2 separate regions of the Homo sapiens genome follow, and region 1 is linked to region 2. The links are contacts of gene promoters, found by promoter capture Hi-C in human tissues and cell types (Jung and others, 2019). All regions are on one chromosome and are shown on one strand. Each heading gives the region's core, a stretch centred on a gene start or on the middle of the fragment in contact. The rest is flanking DNA. Distances are from core to core; before and after follow the strand shown. Region 1 holds the start of RPS15 (ribosomal protein S15). Region 2 overlaps TCF3 (transcription factor 3).

Region 1 (5,245 bases), core at 1-2,500, 200 kb after region 2:
AGGCGGGAGGGTCGCTTGAGCCCAGGAGTTCAAGACCAACCTGGACGACACAGAGAAACGCTGTTTCCACAAATAATCAAAAATCAAGGTCGGGCGCGGTGTTCACGCCTGTAATCCCAGCACTTTGGGAGGCCGAGGCAGGTGGATCACCTGAGGTCAGGAGTTTGAGACCAGCCTGGGCAACACTGAAACTCGTCTCTACTAAAAATACAAAAATTAGCCGGACGTGGTGGGGGGGCCCTCTAATCCCAGCTACTCGAGAGGCTGAGGCAAGAGAATCGCTTGAACCCGGGAGTGGGAGGCTGCAGTGAGCTGGGACGGAGCCATTGCACTCCAGCCTGGGCGACAGGATGAGACTCCGCCTCAAAATAATCAAAAATTAAAAAATAAAAGCGCAAGCCAGATGCCCACCACCACCCTGCCTGGAAAGGACCCAGCGACCTCCACCGCCCTTAAAATCTAAGGAGTCTAACGCAGCCCCTTATTCTAAGTCACGTGGGCTACAGACAGGGGCTACACCTTCCAACTAAGCCGCGGAAAAGTGAACAACGGGGGGCAGGTTGCAAATAAGCAAAAACCTCAACGTCTCTGGACAGTTTTCTGGGCGCAAGACCACACTCAGTTCCAAACCCGCGCGGAGACCGTGCCCGCCCACCGCCGCAGAGGCGCTTGGACCCCCGCCCCGCCGCCCTCACCCGGACAAGCCCCACCGCTGGCCCAGCCCCTGCCCGCGACCCCCGCGGCCGCCCTTACTAGGACATGTCCAGCAGCTGGTCGAGGTCCACGCCGCGGTAGGTGAACTTGCGGAAGGTCCGCTTCTTCTTCTGCTCTACTTCTGCCTGTGCGGGCGCGGATCGGGCGTCAGCGGGATCCCGACACCCATCTCCCGGGGCCACCGGGCCCGAGGACACCGCGGAAGACGCGCGGCGCCGCCGGGGACAGAAGCCCGACAGGGACACACCGCTTCGACCCGTCCCCGGGGATCACTCGCGGCTCCGGGTTACGAGGACCCGGACATGAAGGCCCGGACAGGCCTTCCCAGCCCCGCGTCGTCCCGACACCCACCAAGTCCGCCCCTCGCCCCAACATCCAGCCGCCTGCAGGGTCGGGAGCAAGCCGCCGTAGCCGCGGGGACGAACTGCGGCCCCCGCGAGACGGTCAGAGGTTGGATGGAGCCGGATAGGCCCGGCAGAGACGCGCCAAATCGCAACACTCACCATCTTGCCGGATCCTCAGAAGAGATCGCTTTGGTCCGCGCCTGCGCAGTTATCGCGAGACTGCCGGCATGTCCCGCCCCCTCGGCCGTGCGCGCACACGCGCTTCCGCTTTCCCGGCGGCGAACACGCGCCCTCTGCCGTCTGGAGGGCAAAACACAGGCTGCAGGGATTAGAGCAGCCGCCGCCTGAGGTCTGCAGAGCCGCTTCCTCCACGGAGTGGGACTTTGGACAAGTCGCCGCCCCTGTCTGAGCCTCGGGTTCGTGCTCCGTCATCTACACGATGGCACCCACATCAACAAGTATTTATGGAGCGCCTACCGTTTGCTCGTAGGTGCGGTTTGGCGGTTCAGGTCCCACTGTGGGAGGAACACGAGAATTCATTACAGATACTGGAGCAGGGACAGGGCCTCGCTGAAAAGAACCATTCCGGCTTTAACAGATAAAATTTTGTATATAAAGTTAGTAAGGACAACACAGTGAGACTGCCTCTCTACAAAAAAATACAAAAATTTGTGTACACACGGACATAAAAGAATAAAAAGTACAAAAAATTCCCAGCTACTCGGGAGGCTGAGCCTTCAGCCCAGGAGGTCAAGGCTGCAGTGAGCCGTGATCGCGCCAACGGCACTCCAGCCTGGGCGACAGAGCAAGACCCTGCCTCAAAAATAAAGTTAGGAATATCACTGGGTTTGTTAAGATATGTAAATGTAATGTGAATAATGATAGCTCAAAGAGAAGGAGTAACTAGAACTATGTAGGAGTGACTTTTTTTTTTTTTTGAGACAGAGTTTCACTCTTGTTGCCCTGGCTGGAGTGCAGTGGTGTGATCTCGGCTCACTGCAACCTCTGCCTCCTGGGTTCAAGCGATTCTCCTGCCTCAGCCTCCCAAGTAGCTGGGATTACAGGCACCTGTTACCGTGCCCGGCTAATTTTGTATTTTTAGTAAAGACACGGTTTCTCCATGTTGGCCAGGCCATGTTGGTCTCGAACTCCTGACCTCAGGTGATCCACCCGCTTTGGCCTCCCAAAGTGCTGGGATTACAGGCGTGAGCCACCGCGCCTGGCCTAGGAGTGATGTTTCTGTATCTTACTGGAATTAAGTATAAAGTTGAAGGTGACTATTAACTATGGATGTGGCACCTGGCTGGGCGTGGTGGCTTATGCTTGTAATTCCAGCACTTTGGGAGGCCGAGGCGGGCGGATCACCTGAGGTCAAGAGTTCAAGACCAAGCTGACCAACCCTAACTCTACTAAAAATACAAAAAATTAGCCAGGCGTGGTGGTGGGTGCCTGTAATCCCAGCTCCTTGGGAGGCTGAGGCAGGAGAACCGCTTGAACCCGGGAGGCGGAGGTTGCAGTGAGCTGAGATCGCACCACTGCACTCCAGCCTGGGCGACAGAGACTCCTTCTCAAAAAAAAAAAAAAAAAAAAAAAAGAAAAAGAAAAAAAAAAAGCACAAAACCTCTGGGAACCCGAGCTTAGCTGTGGCACTGTCCAGGGAGCTGAGCTCTCCCCAGCCGTCCCCACAGTCCCAAGGGAAGCCAATTACACTGTACTCAGGGAGGGCTGAGTCTCCGTCCCGAGGAGCACAGGACCTATGTGTCGGGCCCGTCCATGTTACCCATTTTCCTGCAGCAGAGTGTCCTGGCTGGAAAGCTGATTTTGTGAGTGCTGCTCTTTGGCTGGGGGAGCTAATGTAACGGGAGGGGCTGACACTCAACACCATGATGACCTGTGGTGTGGATAGACAGCCGCCCCCGCCTGGCCCTCCTGGGAGCTGGGGCAGCAGCTCCTGAGGACATGGGAGAAGGCTCTGACGGCAGGGAATGGAGCTGGCTTCCTGGGCTGAGGCGTTGAGGGGTACTGTCTCAGTGAGGAAACTGCACTGCACAGGGATGTTGGGGGTACCCCTTCTCTTGGTTCTCTCCAAACTAAGTCAAACCTTCCCTGTCCCCAAAATATGAACTGGGGCGGGGGGGGGTGGTTCTGGCTGTCGCCTGAACAGTCTCACGCCTGGCACGCTGTAGGCTTCCAGTTTGGGACTTCATGGTCCTTTTTTTTTCTTGTTTTGTTTTTTGAGACGGAGTTTCGCTCTTGTTGCCCAGGCTGGAGTGCAATGGCGCAATCTCGGCTCACTGCAAGCTCCGCCTCCCAGGTTCAAGCGATTCTTCTGCCTCAGCCTCCCAAGTAGCTGGGATTACAGGCATGCACCACCACACCCGGTTAATTTTTGTATTTTTAGTAGAGACGGGGTTTCTCCATGTTGGTCAGGCTGGTCTCGAACTCCCGACCTCAGGTGATCCGCCCGCCTCGGCCTCCCAAAGTGCTGGGATTACAGTCGTGAGCCACCGCGCCCGGCCCTTTTTAAGTCTCGCCTTCCCTGCCACAGTGACAGAGTATCCCTTTCCAAAGATGCCCCTGTCCTAATCCCCAGAACCTGGGGATATGTCACCTTCCATGGCAAAAGATATGATTAAAGGTCTTGAGATGGGAAAAGCCTGGAGCCCACATTCCCCGAGAAAACTGGTGGTGGCCACATCCTCAAAGTCACAGCATCCCAAGACCCACTGAGGGATGGGCCCAGCTCGCCACTCAGCCTCTGCCCTGAAGCCCTCGGGGTTGCTGAGACCACCAAGAGCCAAGGGGAGGGCGAGGGCGCCTCCGTCGCGTTTCAGACCTTTCCTAGGCACTGGAAGGGTAGGCACAGGCCAAGACCAAGGAGGGAAAAAACGGACACAAAGTGGTTTCTAATCCAAACGCACTTCTCTTTATTCAAACCAGGGTCAAACTGGTCAATGGGAAACGCCCTGAAGCCACGTGCCTGGGGAGAAAGGCTTCCTACTCGGTTCGGTTCAGCGCTGCGTGGGATCCACGCGGCTGGCTGTGCGCAACCCCCACAGTTCACCTCAGACACTACCAAGCAGGTCAGTCGACAAAAGCAAGGAATTAAACAAAAAACAGAAATACACTCAGTAGATTTCTTCTAGAAGCTCCCAGAGTTTCTGGACCACCAAGTCCCAACCCCCAAAGCCAGGAGCGAGGGGACTAACAGCGCACCCCCTCCACCAGTGCCGACGGAAACCCCGTTTTAAATTAAAAAATAAGCCAGTATACATCGTAGAAAATTTCTCTTAAAAATCTCACAATTTGTAAATGTATATTTTTTCTTTAACATAAAAGTTTACAATATACCGTAAAACAAAAGGCTCAGGAAAATAATTTCCAAAAAAAAGGAAGAAAAAGAAACCTGAAGTTTTGAATTAAAGCTGAAGACATTTTTTTTAAACCCTGTTGTTGAACCAGTGACTTTTTTTTATTGTGCTGATGGGTTAGAGAAAGAAATATTTAAAAACCTCAGTCCAGACGACACCCACAGCCGCTCCAAAAGCCTCGCGCCCTCCCCCCGCCCCCCCCCCCAAGGTTGAGTCGCCACTTTGCCGCCAAGTTTGTGATTGTCACGAGTTCACAAGTTTGGAATCCTGGGTCTGGGCCGTGCAGACGTCGCGGCGCCGCGGGCTAGCGTCGGTAGGGGTGGAACCCTTGCACGTTGTGGTTCTGCCCTCGTCCAAAGCCGCTGCCGCCGGCGGGGGGGCCCCCCGACCCTGGCACGGAGGGACCCCCGTAGGAAGGAGGCTGCTGGCTGGGGTCTGAGAAGCCCTGTCCGAAGCCACTCAAGTCCTGCCCGTAACCTGCTGGGGGAGAAAGTCCTGTGAGCTCGGGGCGGTCCCTGGGCGGTTGGCACTGCCGTCGAGCGAGGCCACCTGGACACAGCTCCGCCGAGCCTGCCTTGAGTCCACGGGTCCCACGGGGTGCGGGTGGGGCCCTTCTGAGGCCAGCACCTGGGCCGGGGAGAGGACCCCGGGCATGTTCTCTCCCTCAAAAACATGTGAGCAGGGGCACACACAGAGAAAAGCGGCTTCCAGAGCCCTCCATGGCCCACGTAACCTCACCGCTTCCCTGTTCAATCCCGAAGACGTGGTTGGGGGGGTGAGGGGAGGTAGAGAAGCCTCGGGGCTTGGAGACACACA
Region 2 (5,222 bases), core at 2,135-4,634:
GAGGGACGTGATGTGGCTGCTCCAGCCTGGGACCCCCCAGCTCCTGGACACAGAGGGGTGACCCCCTCCCCGTTCAGTCCATGCAGTTAACGCCCGCCTGAGCCCGGGGGTGGTGGAGGATGCAGAGCTCCAAGGCCTGAGTTGGTGGCACCCTCCTCATTGCCTCCACTCCCCCAGGCCCCTGCAGGCTGTGGCGCTGGCCCCAGGTGTGGCCCTCCCGAAGCTCCCGCAAGATGGGCACCTGCTCTCTTCCATCGTCAGGTTCAGCGAGTCGATGGGTGCGAGGGGCGGAGGGATCCCGGCAGGGCCCAGGAGCTGCAGTAGCTCATTTCCCCGCTTCCTGCTTCTCCTCTCCGAGGACCCAGGAAGAGGGGAGTTTGGGGCTCATCAGCAGGATGGAGCCCCGGAGCTGTGGGATCCCTTCCCAAACCTCGGCTTCTTCCTGGAACAGTGGGTGCAGCTTCCTTCCAGGCGGGGCCTAGTTGGCTTCGGGGACGCCACCCTTCGCCAGGAGTCCCCAACGCTGATGGCTGATGGGGTACCCCAGCCGCATTCTCCACCTTGGCCCCTTCTTCATGTGCCCTGTTCTAGCTCCCTTTTAAGTCACCTCGCTTTTCTTAAGTTCATTTGAAAGGAAACTTTAGATTTGAGAACCAGAAACCCAGGTGAGAATAAAAGGTGTCCCTGAAAATTAATTAAACATAAGTTTTCCCCTGTGAAGGGTCTGCCTGTTCTTCGATATTTATAAATATTTAAAAATTGGTGTCGAGAGAGGAGTTAGGTACTGGGCAAGGTGGCTCACACCTTTAATCCCAGCACTTTGGGAGGCCAAGGCAGGAGGATCGCTTGAGGCCAGGAGGTCAAGGCTGCAGTGAGCTATGTTTGAGCCACTGCGCTCCAGCCTGGGTGACTGAGAGACCCCAACTCAAACAAACAGAAAAGGGCCAGACACAGTGGTTCATGCCTATAATCCCAGCACTTTGGGGGACCAAGGCGGAAGGATCGCTTGAGCGCAGGAGTTAGAGACCAGCCTGGGTAACACAGCAAAACCTCATCTCTACTAAAAATACAAAAATTAGCTGGGCGTGGTGGCGCACACTTGGGGTCCCAGCTACTCGGGAGGCTGAGGCAGGAGGATTGCTGGAGCCTGGGAGGCGGAGGTTGCAGTGAGCTGAGATTGCGCCACTGCCCTGCAGCCTGGGTGACAGAGCCAGACCCTGTCTCAAAACAGAAACGAAACAAAAAAGGCATTAGAGATTAACGAATAGGAAACCAAGATTTTCTGGTTGTCTGGATCGGAAGACATTTAAAACGGGAATAATTTTCGTACGCCTTCTCCCACCCACCGCCTCCCATTTTTGGAAACCCTCAGGCACAGGTCTCTGAGTGACAGCCTATCTTCTGCCAAGACAGACAGGCTCTGAGGCCACGGGAGACACCAGGAAATTGCTTATTGACGGACCAAAGGAAAGTTCTTTCCTATTTTTCATTTCCCCGTCGCTTTCTCTGTCCGTGCGATTGTAAGTGTGACACACGGTCAGAGTGAAAATCCACAGAACGGCACCTCCGCGTTCTGCTTTAAGAGGAAACCCCGGGAGAACCTGGCGCATGGGTCATTTCCTCCGGGTGCGTGTCTGGGAGTGGAATTGCTGGGTCCCTGGATGCTTTTTCACATTGAAAGCGTCCCTTGTGACCGGGCGCGGTGGCTCAGGCCTGTAATCCCAGCACTTGGGAGGCCAAGGCAAGAGGAGTACCTGGGACTAGGTGTTCGAGACCAGCCTGGCCAACGTGGTGACAGCACGGCCTGTCTCATTTAATAGGTGACAAAGATCGTGTCCTTTCACCTGCCACTTGTTTAATAGAGGGCGGTGGTCTTCTCGGAAGGGGATTGACCCTGTGAATGGCTCTCTGGTGAATTTTCTGTTACTCTCTTGGGCCCTCGTCCTTGAAGTTGATCCACTTTTTATTCTGAAGTCTTTCGGGATTCACAGGAAGTGGCAGAGTGTTCTCCTCTCACCTAGCCACCCCCAGGGGTACCGTCCCGCCCACCCGTGGTGCTGCGTCAGACCTAGGAAGCCGACATTGGTGCCGTCCACAGATCCTGATCAGATTCCACCGGCTTTACACGCACGTGTGTGTGTCTGTGTGTGCGTGCGGGTGTGTGTCTGTGCGTGTGCGCGTCTGTGCGTGTGCGTGCGTGTGTGCGCACGTGTGTGTGCGTCTGCGCGTGCGTGTCTGTGCGTCTGCGCGTGTGTGCGTGTCTGCGTCTGTGTCTGCGTGCGTGTGTGTACGCGTGCGTGTGTGTGTGTGTGTGTGTGTGTGTGTGTGTGTGTAGTTCTGTGCAGTTTTGAGACATGCACCTTCTTTAAGCCCAGGAATCACCAATCTGTTCTTCATCTGTACGATTTTTTTTTTTTAGGGACCAGGTCTCACTCTGTTGTCCAGACTGGAGTGCAGTGGTGTGATCATAACTGACTGTAGCCTTGAAGTTCTGGGCTCAACTGATCCTCCCACCTCAGCCTTGTGAGCAGCTGCGACCACCTAATTAAAAAAATATGTATTTTGTAGAGGGCTGGGTCAGCGGCTCACACTGGTAATCCCCAGCACTTTGGGAGGTTGAGATGGGAGAATTGCCGGAGCCCAGGAGTTCAAGACCAGCCTGGGCAACATGGAGAAACCCTGTCTCTGTTTAAAAAAAAAGAAAAATTTCAGCTGGGTGCGGTGGCTCACACCTATAATCCCAGCATTTTGGGAAGCCAGGGTGTGTGGATCACATGAGGCCAGGAGTTCAAGACCAGCCTAGTCAACGTGGCGAAACCCCGTCTCTGCTAAAAATACAAAAATTAGCTGGGCGTGGTGGTGCGTGCCTGTCATCCCAGCTACTCGGGAGGCTGAGACACGAAAAGCACTTGAACCTGGGAGGCGGAGGTTGCAGTTAGCTGAGATTGCGCCACTGCACTCTGGCCTCGGGGACAGAGGGAGACCGTGTCTGAAGAATAAAAAAATATTGTCTAGATGGGGTCTTGCTGTGTTCTCCAGGCTGATCTTGTATTCATGAGCTCAAGTGATCCTCTTACCTCAGCCTCCCAGAGTGCTGTGATTACATGTGTGAGCCACTGTGCCCAGCCCAATTTTTCACTTTGAGTATTTTGTGTAAATGGAATCCTATAGTTTGCAACCTTCTGAGATTAGCTTTTATTCTGTTACGTTAGCATAATTCCCTGGAGATCCAGCCAAGCTGTTGGCTGTATCTTTTTTTTTTCTTTTTATTGCTGCCTCATTAACTTTTTTTTTTTTTTTGAGACCGAGTTTTGCTCTTGTTGCCCAGGCTGGAGTGCAGTGGCACGATCTCAGCTCACTGCAACCTCCGCCTCCGCCTCCGCCTCCTGAGTTCAAACGATTCTCCTGCTTCAGCCTCCTGAGTAGCTGGGAATATAGGTGCCTGCCACCATGCCTGGCTAATTTTTTGTAGTTTTAGTAGAGACATGGTTTCGCCACGTTGGCCAGGCTGGTCTCAAACTCCTGACCTCCAGTGATCCACCCACCTCGGCCTCCCAAAGTGCTGGGATTACAGGCGTGAACCACCGCGCCTGGCCGCCTCATTAACTTTTTAACAACATCAGTAATACAACAATTTACATCACTTTTTTTTTTTTTTTGAGACGGAGTCATGCTCTGTCACCCAGGCTGGGGTGCAGTGGCGTGATCTCAGCTCACTGCAAGCTCCGCCTCCCAGGTTCACGCCATTCTCCTGCCTAGCCTCCCTAGTAGCTGGGACTACAGGTGCCGGCTAAGTTTTTGTATTTTTAGTAGAGACGGGGTTTCACCTTGTTAGCCAGGATGGTCTCCATCTCCTGACCTTGTGATCCGCCCGCCTCGGCCTCCCGAAGTGCTGGGATTACAGGTGTGAGCCACTGCTTACATCAGTGTTTCTTGAGCACTGTGCATTGGACACAAAGCTTGGCTTATTCACTGGGAATTCTCAGTTCTAACAGGTTAGCGAAATAGGTGTAATTATTACCGTATTTTACTGGTAAAGAAGCTGAAACTTAGAGAGTTTAGTAACCATTGCGCTAATTTTTTGTATTTTTAGTAGAGGCAGGGTTTCACCGTGTTAGCCAGGACAGTCTCGGTCTCCTGACCTGGTGATCCTCCCGCCTCGGCCTCCCAAAGTGCTGGGATTACAGGCATGAGCCACCGAGCCCGGCCTCATTTGGCTGTTTGATAATGTTTGTAGGCGCCTGTCTGTCCACCCGTGCCAAAAGTGCTGGGATTCCAGGCCTGACCCTCTGCGCCTGGCCCCGTTCGGCTCTTTGATAACGTTTGGAGGCGCCTGTCTTTCCACCTGCGCAGGGAGGCTGAGGGCGCCGCGGTCCTCAATGCGCCAACTTTTAGGTGGTTTCTTTGTTCTTGACTCGGCTGCCCTGTGCATTTTCTCTCTCTCGTTGATTTTTCTTCTGGAGAATCTGCTTCATTGGCAAATCGATATTGATCAATTGATCAATTTTCCTCTTTATCGGCATTTCTTCTCTTTCTAAAGTTTTTGGTGACTTTCAGATCACAGGCCCCTTTTGCTGACTTCTGCCCTCTTCTGTTCCATCAGTGTGGTGTTGAGGGTTCCACCCCGTGAACCCCATCCCATTGGTTTCCATAATGCATGTTTTTCTCATATTACTGACATTTGTTCCTTTTTTTTTTTTTTTTTTTTTTTCCTAATTTCCTCTTCAGGTCAGGTTGCTTCAGAGGTTTCTGAGTTCCAAGTTGGAGGTCCTTTCTTGATTTCTAGATCTCCAGTGCCAAAACTCAGCTTTGGCTTAAACGGTAGCTACTGTTTGGAGGACGCAGAGCTCCTCTGCCGAGGCTGAAACATGGATTATTTTTGTCCTTCTTTGTGAGTACTTGAGGGATAGTTGGATGTGGAGCTGCGAGGCCTTTGAACCATATTTAGATTTTTAATCTGTTTAATGTCAGGCTGAGAGCAGCGCCATCCCCCTCTGTTCTGTTTGTCGGTTTCTCTGTTGACGTATTTAGATGCCAGGATTGTGGGCTTGTGTGGGCTGAGACAGTGGGATTTCGTTGTGGGTCGAGCCATTGTCAACAACAAAAAAATCCGTTCCTTGGCTGGTGGTGGTGGCTCATGCCTGTAATCCCAGCACTTTGGGAGGCCAAGGCAGGTGGATCTTCTGAGGTCAGGAGTTCAAGACCAGCCTGGCCCACAGGGC

What was found. The method cuts DNA at HindIII sites, captures the fragments that hold promoters and counts their contacts. A contact is called where the count stands out against the background at its distance.
Region 1: the fragment with the promoter of RPS15 here is called in contact with a fragment that was not itself captured in region 2 in 1 of the 25 tissues and cell types used here (dorsolateral prefrontal cortex).

Annotation. Positions count from the first base shown.
Region 1 is chr19:1,434,401-1,439,645 of GRCh38, reverse strand. RPS15 (ribosomal protein S15) reads right to left here and starts at 1,250. Exons shown (of 4, transcript NM_001018.5): 1 at 1,218-1,250; 2 at 754-839. The coding sequence starts at 1,220. It overlaps DAZAP1 (DAZ associated protein 1), which reads right to left. Exons shown (of 12, transcript NM_018959.4): 12 at 3,962-4,909. The coding sequence ends at 4,734. RefSeq lists enhancers at 1,007-1,226, 635-1,505, 4,882-5,245. The HindIII fragment of the contact is 20,902 bases long and covers 1-5,245 here.
Region 2 is chr19:1,639,241-1,644,462 of GRCh38, reverse strand. The region is part of intron 3 of TCF3 (transcription factor 3); the gene reads left to right. Among named protein-coding and RNA genes, the nearest start is that of TCF3, 11 kb to the left of the region's middle. The HindIII fragment of the contact is 9,192 bases long and covers 1-5,222 here.